2 separate regions of the Homo sapiens genome follow, and region 2 is linked to region 1. Evidence: promoter capture Hi-C in 16 types of primary human blood cells and fetal thymus (Javierre and others, 2016). All regions are on one chromosome and are shown on one strand. Each heading gives the region's core, a stretch centred on a gene start or on the middle of the fragment in contact. The rest is flanking DNA. Distances are from core to core; before and after follow the strand shown.

Region 1 (3,836 bases), core at 1,243-3,742:
CTGAGGCCCAAGATGCCTTTAAACCAGGCTTTATGGTATGTTTAGCAACTAAAGAAATCATGTCAAGGAAAAGCTCACACACTGAGACTCACTCGCACTTGTAGGCAAGTCACCAAGGCAGCTGGTGACCTAAAGTCAACCTTCCCCATTAGGAGACAGCAGGGTGAGCTGTGGCTGAGCACGGAAGGAGGCAGGGGGCTTCTCTGAGGCTAAGTGAGGTGCTGGAGATGGCTCCCACCAGCCCGGGGAGTTTGTGAGCCGGCTGTCAAACAGCCATTGATATAAACTAAATTATATAAGCTTACAATTAAATAAATTAAAAACAAAGGTAATAAATACTCAAAACACACTACCTCCTATTTGTTTTACTACATTTGACTGTTGCCCATGCCCTGGCAGTCACTGGCCTCTATGTACATATCTGCATGGTGGACACACTATACAATGATGTGCTACTGGGTATCTCTCCTAAATCACATTGAGCAACCTCATCTTGGTAACAGAAAAGGCTATGGTGGGAGTATTTACACCACTGTCATCAGCAAATATTACACAGAAGGGCTGAATTTATTTTTTGTGGTCAGGCTTAAGAAAGTGATGGGAAAATGCTAATAATGCAGATTAAACCTAACAGTGTTAGCTGTTATAGCATGAATAAATAGCACAAAAATTGAAGGAAATATTCTAGTATTAGAACAATATTATCTTATTTGAGTAACATCATTCCTGTCATTTAAAGAAGGAGGCCGGGCGCAGTGGCTCACACCTGTAATCCCAGCCCTTTGGGAGGCTGAGGCAGGTGGATCACAAGGCCAGGAGTTTGAGATCAGCCTCGCCAACATGGTGAAACCCCGTCTCTACTAAAAATACAAAAATTAGCCGGGCGTGGTGGTGGGCGCCTGTAGTCCCAGCTACTCGGGAGGCTGAGGCAAGAGAATCGCTTGAACCCAGGAGGCGGAGGTTGCAGTGAGCCGAGATTGCGCCGCTGCACTCCAGCCTGGGCAACAGAGCAAGACTCCATCTCAATAAATGAATAAATAAATAAAATAAAAATAAATTTTAAAAAATAAAGGAGTAAGGTTGGGACATAAATCTTTGTTGTTTCATTTGTTTCACGATCATCCTACTCTTTACAGAAAATATGGAGCACCGTTCTCTTTGGAGCTACCCTCATTTGTCATTTGCAACTATAGGTTGGCTACTGAGTTTGGCAAAAATCAAAGAAAGCCTTTGGTAAGAATCACTCGGGTAGACTGCATTTAAATTGAGAGTATTGTATCTTTATTTGTAAAATTGTGTGCAGTGTATCTTTTATTTCAATATTTAAAATAAGCATGTGTATATGTGTATATATATGTACGTAACACATATACATATATATACACATATATGTGTGTATATATACATATATATACATGTACACACACACATACATCACACATTTTTCCCTGGAGAGGTGAGTGTTGAGTATCTACCAGCTCGCAACTGCTCTAGTACATATGAAAATGAAGGCATGCCCTCAAAGCTGCATGTTGAGTGCCGTCTGCTTTCGGTCCCGTCATTATCTCTGTATAGACCCAGTTGGCAATCATGCATTTGGGGCCCTCTGCAAGTGTGAAAGGAAGGCACTAAGGAAAGACCACCTGGTCCTGGGCCTGCCTCTTCCCCTAGCACCCAGTAGACTGTGATACTCTGAGCCCAGGGGTTGGCAAAGTGTGGCAGATCACTGCAGATCCCCAAATGTCCCAGAGCTGCAAGGCAATGGGGTCCATCTCCCTCTGCAGACACGCAGTAGGAACTCTGGGACTCAGTTCTGTTTTATCCTAACTGGCCTTTATGAAATGACTGCAGTTTCTTGTGACGAGGGGTGGCCTCAGTGGTAAGGTAGTGGTGACCAGAACTCAGGGCACTGAGGGGGCGGGGTGCTGGATTTCACTTGTCTGTTGGCCCAGGGCTCTTTCCAACCCTTACAAACCATAGGCTGAGAATGTGGTGGAAACTAGGTCACTTTGCAAGAGATATAGGGAAACCCCTGAGCTCACCTAGTCTTCCTGTCATTCTCCATGGGAAGATCCAAGCCCAGAGAAGGCAAGCATTTGCCCCAGGCCACACAGCAGAGCCAGCACCGGAATCCCAGGTGCCTGCCTGCCAGATGGAAGGGCTTTCCATTGCAGCCCCTGCTAGCGTATAAACTTCTGGCTGGGTTATGCCAGAGGAGAGAGCAGTGGGGCTTGGCTCCCCCTCCCCCTCCCCACCAAGCTCTGAGCAGGGCTGTCTTCCCGCCCCTCAGCTCTGGCCCGGCCTGCTTTACCACTTTACCTGCTCCTATCACCACCGCATCATACTCAGGCTTCAGACCTCCCCTGGCTTCCGTGTTATCTCGTCTCCACGCCGGGAAGGGAGAGGCGGCCACAGCCTTGCAGAGACCTCGGCCACTTGCAGCCATTTCTGCCCCAGGCTGGGCCTTGCTAGGCAGGGAGTTTGCTAGCGATTGGCTTTTGTGCTGCCCTAGGCACGGGGTGGAGCAGGGAGGAAGCAGGAAGAGGAGGAGCTGCAGTCCCCCTCCAGGCCCCCTCCACCATGCATTCTTGGCCACAGGCCAGCCTCCTGCTGCCCTGGGGCTGTGCTGGGCCGTCGGGAGTGTTGCCTATTAACCAGGCGGTGTCACCTCCAGGATGCAGGGGATAATGGCAAAACTGACAATCCACTGGGGTTCCTATGTCAGGCTGGCATTGTGCTGAACCCTGTAGGCAAAACTCCCCATTTTACAGATGAGGGCGCTGAGGCTGCGGGGTTAGGGAATGAGTGGTGGAGGCAGAGTGGAGCTCGAAAGGGCCCTCTCCTCCCCTGTGCATCTACCTTCTCAGTCAGAACTGAAACGCCTGGGATGGCAAGTGCTCGTGTCAGACTCTGCTCCAACTCCATGCTGAGTCTGCCAGTGCAGAGTGGTGATGCCTCTACGCCCACAGGAGGCGCCCAGGGCGGCCATCTAGCGTCACCACGACCAGGGCCTTCAGACACCGCAGAGGCAGCTGTGTCTGTCGCTGAGGAGCACTGGAGTCCTCTCCTAAATGCTCAAACACAAACCCACAACGAGGGCTTAGGGGCAAGTTCGCTGTCTGTAATTCTCTGGTGTTTTAGTTTTGAAGGCCTGGCCAGTTCTCCTCTTTTGGCACCTTGCCCATTTTCCAAGAATCCCCAAGGATTCGAGGTCACATCTGTAAATACCTCCAGCTAAAGTTCTTTCTGACCCTCCCTTAGGCCTGCCTTGAATTAGGAGCCCCTTTGTTCTCTGCCCATTACTTAGCAGAGTGTTCCCCTAGGAGGAAAAAACCCCTTGGAGCGGAGAGTTCCTGCACTGCTCTGATATCGCAGTGTGACGGAAACCTGCTATTGGTAACGAATCTCAGAACTGGGAGAGTATGTGGAGATGATCCTAAGAGGGGGTTCCGAGGACCCCTCCACACACCATGGACAGTTACCCCGCATGTGAGCATCTCTGCTAAGATCTGATTCAGGATGTTCACTCCTGTGTTATTTATTATATAGAAAGATCAAGGGGACTGGTTAAACTAGACATATCACATCCAGCCGCTGCTAAAAACTAAAGGGAAATAGTAGGTGACAAAAGCAGGGGTCCTGAACAGTGGTGGGCTCAGGGGATTGGAGTTTTTTCCTTTATGTTTTTCTGTATTTTCCACAATCCACGCTTTTCATTGCCATTCCATCAGATGATGTTAAGGAGGAACACAGATCCAGTCACCTGAGGGGATACTTCCTCACTGCCACCTTCTCAGGGTTTAGACCAACATGTGGGTTCTAGTTCCCCCAGCCCC
Region 2 (3,836 bases), core at 640-3,139, 140 kb before region 1:
GCTAATTTTTGTATTATTAGTAGAGATGGGTTTTCACCATGTTGGCCAGGCTGGTCTTGAACTCCTGATATCAAGTGATCTGCCCTCCTCGACCTCCCAAAGTGCTGGGATTACAGGTGTGAGCCACTATGCCTGACCCGGTCTTGTATTATCTTGCATTTTGGTTTGTTGATGTAGAGCTTTGTAAACATTTCAAAGACTCTTTGTTAGGAATTGGTTTTATCTACCAGCCAGAATGTATGATCATTCAAGACTGGGACTGACAGATTCCAAAGGTTAATTTTCATGTAACCAGCTCATCTTTAGCTTCCAGGAACCGCGAAGGGATAGACAAGAGCTGTCCTGGTGGGGAATTCCCTTGACCTGACTTGGAGGGGCAGAGAGGCAGGGGACCTGACACAGAGGTCAAGGGAGATCCCTGGATCAAGCAGGACCTAAGCCAAGACCAGAGCCAGAGAGCCAGGAGCGAGATGTAGAGCCATTGGCATCAAAGTGTTATCAAAGTCCAAGCAAGAAGTCAGGACTGAGGGTGGAAAGGAGAAGGACAAGCCCTGTCAGAAGCCAGGGCTCAGTCTGATGAACCTGTTCAGATGCCACCAGACAGAGCAGGAGGGCAGCAGAGCAACCCCCACTTCTAGTCCAGCGGCTCTTTGAGTGTGGTTCTGGATCAGCACCATCAGCATGGCCCAGGACTGTGTTTGAAACGCCAATTCTTAGGCCCCACTGCAGAGCCACTGAATCAGAAACCTGGTGGCGATGGGGCCCAGCATCTGTGTTCTAACACATCCTCCAGATAATTCTAATGCCTGCTATCATCTGAGAACCTCTTTTCTAGACCACACCTTTGGACAATGTTTGGTCTGACAGAGTCTGGAGCCCTGCAGGTGCAATTATCCTTGGAGTCCCAGACCTGTCTGGCAGGCAGGGGCCCTCTTGCATTCTGAGGAACCTCTTCCACAGATGTCAGGCTGAGTTTTGGGGAAGCACAGTTTTTGGGAAGCACGGCCTTCTACATCTCAGTTATTTCCAAATGGGTTCCAACCTCTTCATGTGGAGTGGGAGAGCCATGTTCTGCTTAGAGTTCTATAAGGACCTCCATTTCCCCAAGGAGCCCATCATTGTGGTGGTGGGAATTCCTCTTGTTGTCTTCAGGGGGCCCTACCTTTGCTGGGTCAGGAAGGGGAGGTCAGGCCAACATCTAGATTCTGACAGAATCTTCCTGCATGACGGGAATTTCAACATCTATTCAACAACACAAAAGTCAGTGCCACTGTGAACATCAGACTGAAGTCTGAGATCTTCCCGGAGACCAGCTGGCCAAAAGATGTCATTGATGCCTAGCTCTGGGCAGGCAGAAGAGACCCGGAGCCTGTTACAAACGCCTTCTCCTTCTTCTTGGAGTTGGTTCTGGCTTTCATAATTCACAGTGGATCCAGAGTTGCAGAGATAATTCTTAGTCTTGGGCCATTCTGGATATATCATTCTTCCTCATAGACCATTCTGGATACGTCTTTGTGGCCAAAAAAGAGTTAAATAGCTGCAAGGTTGTTGATTTGTTTACAAAAAAGAAGAAGAAGAAGAAGAAGAAGAAGAAGAAGAAGAAGAAGAAGAACAAGAAGAAGAAGAAGAAGAAGAAGAAGAAAGGAGAAGAAAAAGAGGAAGAGGAAGAAGAGGAAGAGGAGGAAAAGGAAGAAGAAGAAGAAGAAGAAGAAGAAGAAGAAGAAGAAGAAGAAGAAGAAGAAGAAGAAGAAGAAAACTGCTCAGAAAGGACAAGAAAAGCTTCATTTCCTAGCCATTAACTGAAAACCACCTTTCTTAGGACAGGTTGACCTCTAAAGTGTTGACTGATCCATCCAGAAAAAAATGTAGATAAATGATGTCTCTTTTTAGCATTTCATACCAATAAACAAGGTGGGAAAGAAGGAATTTCACCAAGATATCAGCAGAAACATAACTTTGGAGGAGAAATAATTTCCTCTTCATTACCAGTTAATGAAAACAAGCTTCTGCCCACCAGCACTCTGAATTGCTGTCACTGTGGTGAGGTGGTGTGACAGGAACTTGGGGTAACGCCTTAGGCCTCTGGCAAGGATTCTTACATCAGAGCTAATAGGTGAATGTGTCTCATTCAAGGTGGGTGCTGCTCTGTGCTAAGTCTTGGGCATGGAGCCATTGTATCTGTACAGAAAACACTTGACTAGGCACCATGGGGACACCAAGAGAGAAAGACCCGGATCCTGCCCTCGGTTTAAGTCATGGATTATGTTCATATCACTATATGAATTACATAAACCAGTGAAATCTATTTGTATAGATGAGATCATTCATTCGCTTATTCATTCAGCACATATTTATGGAGCACCCATGATTTATGTAGCCACTTTGGGGGTCCAGAAAAGTCAACATAACCCAAGTTTCCCAGGCTCCAGGACAGTGCTGGGGTCACACTAATGATAATGGCCATACTTTCTGGTTCTTCTCTCTACTATTCAGTGAGCGCTTCTAGCACCATGCCCCCCACCCACTGCTCCAGTCAAATTCTCACTCAGTTTGCATCTAGGAGTTTTCAAGCGTGGCCAGCATGTACTCATAAAGCAGGCTGTAAGCCACGGTTAGATTGCAGCATCTTCCATAATCTTCCCACCCAGCTTTGCACCCTCCCCTCCCCAACCCTTGATGTTCATTACCTAAGAAGCTTTGTAAAAAAACTTTTCAAGTATTTGTGGCTAGTGCCCACTGCAAAAATTGCTGCTGTCCACGCCAGGGGGTTAGCAGCTCCTAAAGCTGCCACCTCTCAAGGCACAGAACAGTGCTACCTTTCCTCTGTAATGAGGAAAATGCCTGACTCCACCCTGTTCTACAGTGTGCCATCTGTACTCTATTCTGTTCCATTGGCCTACAGTCTGTTTCTTCACCAGTATCACACCATGTTGGTTATTATAGTTCCATGTAAGTCTTACATCAGAATGTGTGAGTCCTCCAACTTGATTCTTTTTCAAAATTGCTTTGTTTATTCTAGCTCCTTTGCCTTTCCATATATATTTTATTTGTTTATTTATTTATTTTTAAGACAAAGTCTCACTCTGTCACCCAGGCTAGAGTGCAATGGTGCAACCTTGGCTCACTGCAACCTCTGCCTCCTGAGTTCAAGCAATTCTCCTGCCTCAGCCTCCCGAGTAGCTGGGGCAACAGGTGTGTGCCACCACACCCAAGTAGTTTTTGTATTTTTAGTAGAGATGGGGTTTTGCCATGTTGGCCAGGCTGGTCCTGAACTCTTGACCTGAAGTGTTCCGCTCACCTCAGCCTCCCAAAGTGCTGGGATTACAGGTGTGAGTCACCACACCCAGCCTCCATATACATTTTAGAATGTCTTTCCATATATATATTTCAGCCTGTCAATTTATTTAAAAAAAAAACCTGCTGGGATTTTCATTGGGATTACACTGAATTCATAGATGAGTTTGAGGAGAGATGACATTTTAAGAAAATTGGGTCTTCCAATTCGTAACCAAAGTTTAGTCTTTGATTTCTTTAATCAGTGATTTGTAGTTTTCAGCATAAAGATTCCACACAAAACATAATTTTTTTAGACTTATGCCTGAGTATTACATATTTTGGTAATATTGTAAATGGTGCTTAAAATTTTTAAAAATTTCTGATTGGTTATTGCTAGTACCTAAAAATACAATCGATTTCTTTTGTATTGACTGTATATTTTCTGTGAAATTGCTAAATTCATTTCTAGTAACTCGTATTTTCCTTGGACTTTTCTACATAGAAAAGCGTGTTATCTGTGACTAGAAACAGTTTTATTTCACTTTTCCCACTAATGTGCC

The links. The method cuts DNA at HindIII sites, captures the fragments that hold promoters and counts their contacts. A CHiCAGO score of 5 or more calls a contact.
Region 2: a contact is called between a fragment that was not itself captured here and the fragment with the promoter of PYROXD2 in region 1, in 1 of 17 cell types (naive B cells). The highest score is 5.4, in naive B cells.

What each region holds. Positions count from the first base shown.
Region 1 is chr10:98,412,690-98,416,525 of GRCh38, forward strand. PYROXD2 (pyridine nucleotide-disulphide oxidoreductase domain 2) reads right to left here and starts at 2,493. Exons shown (of 16, transcript NM_032709.3): 1 at 2,320-2,493. The coding sequence starts at 2,446. HPS1 (HPS1 biogenesis of lysosomal organelles complex 3 subunit 1) reads right to left here. Exons shown (of 20, transcript NM_000195.5): 20 at 3,509-3,836. The HindIII fragment of the contact is 3,850 bases long and covers 299-3,836 here.
Region 2 is chr10:98,274,422-98,278,257 of GRCh38, forward strand. It overlaps LOC124902489 (a long non-coding RNA gene), which reads left to right. Exons shown (of 2, transcript XR_007062260.1): 2 at 1-3,836. Among named protein-coding and RNA genes, the nearest start is that of LOXL4, 8.1 kb to the left of the region's middle. The HindIII fragment of the contact is 224 bases long and covers 1,778-2,001 here.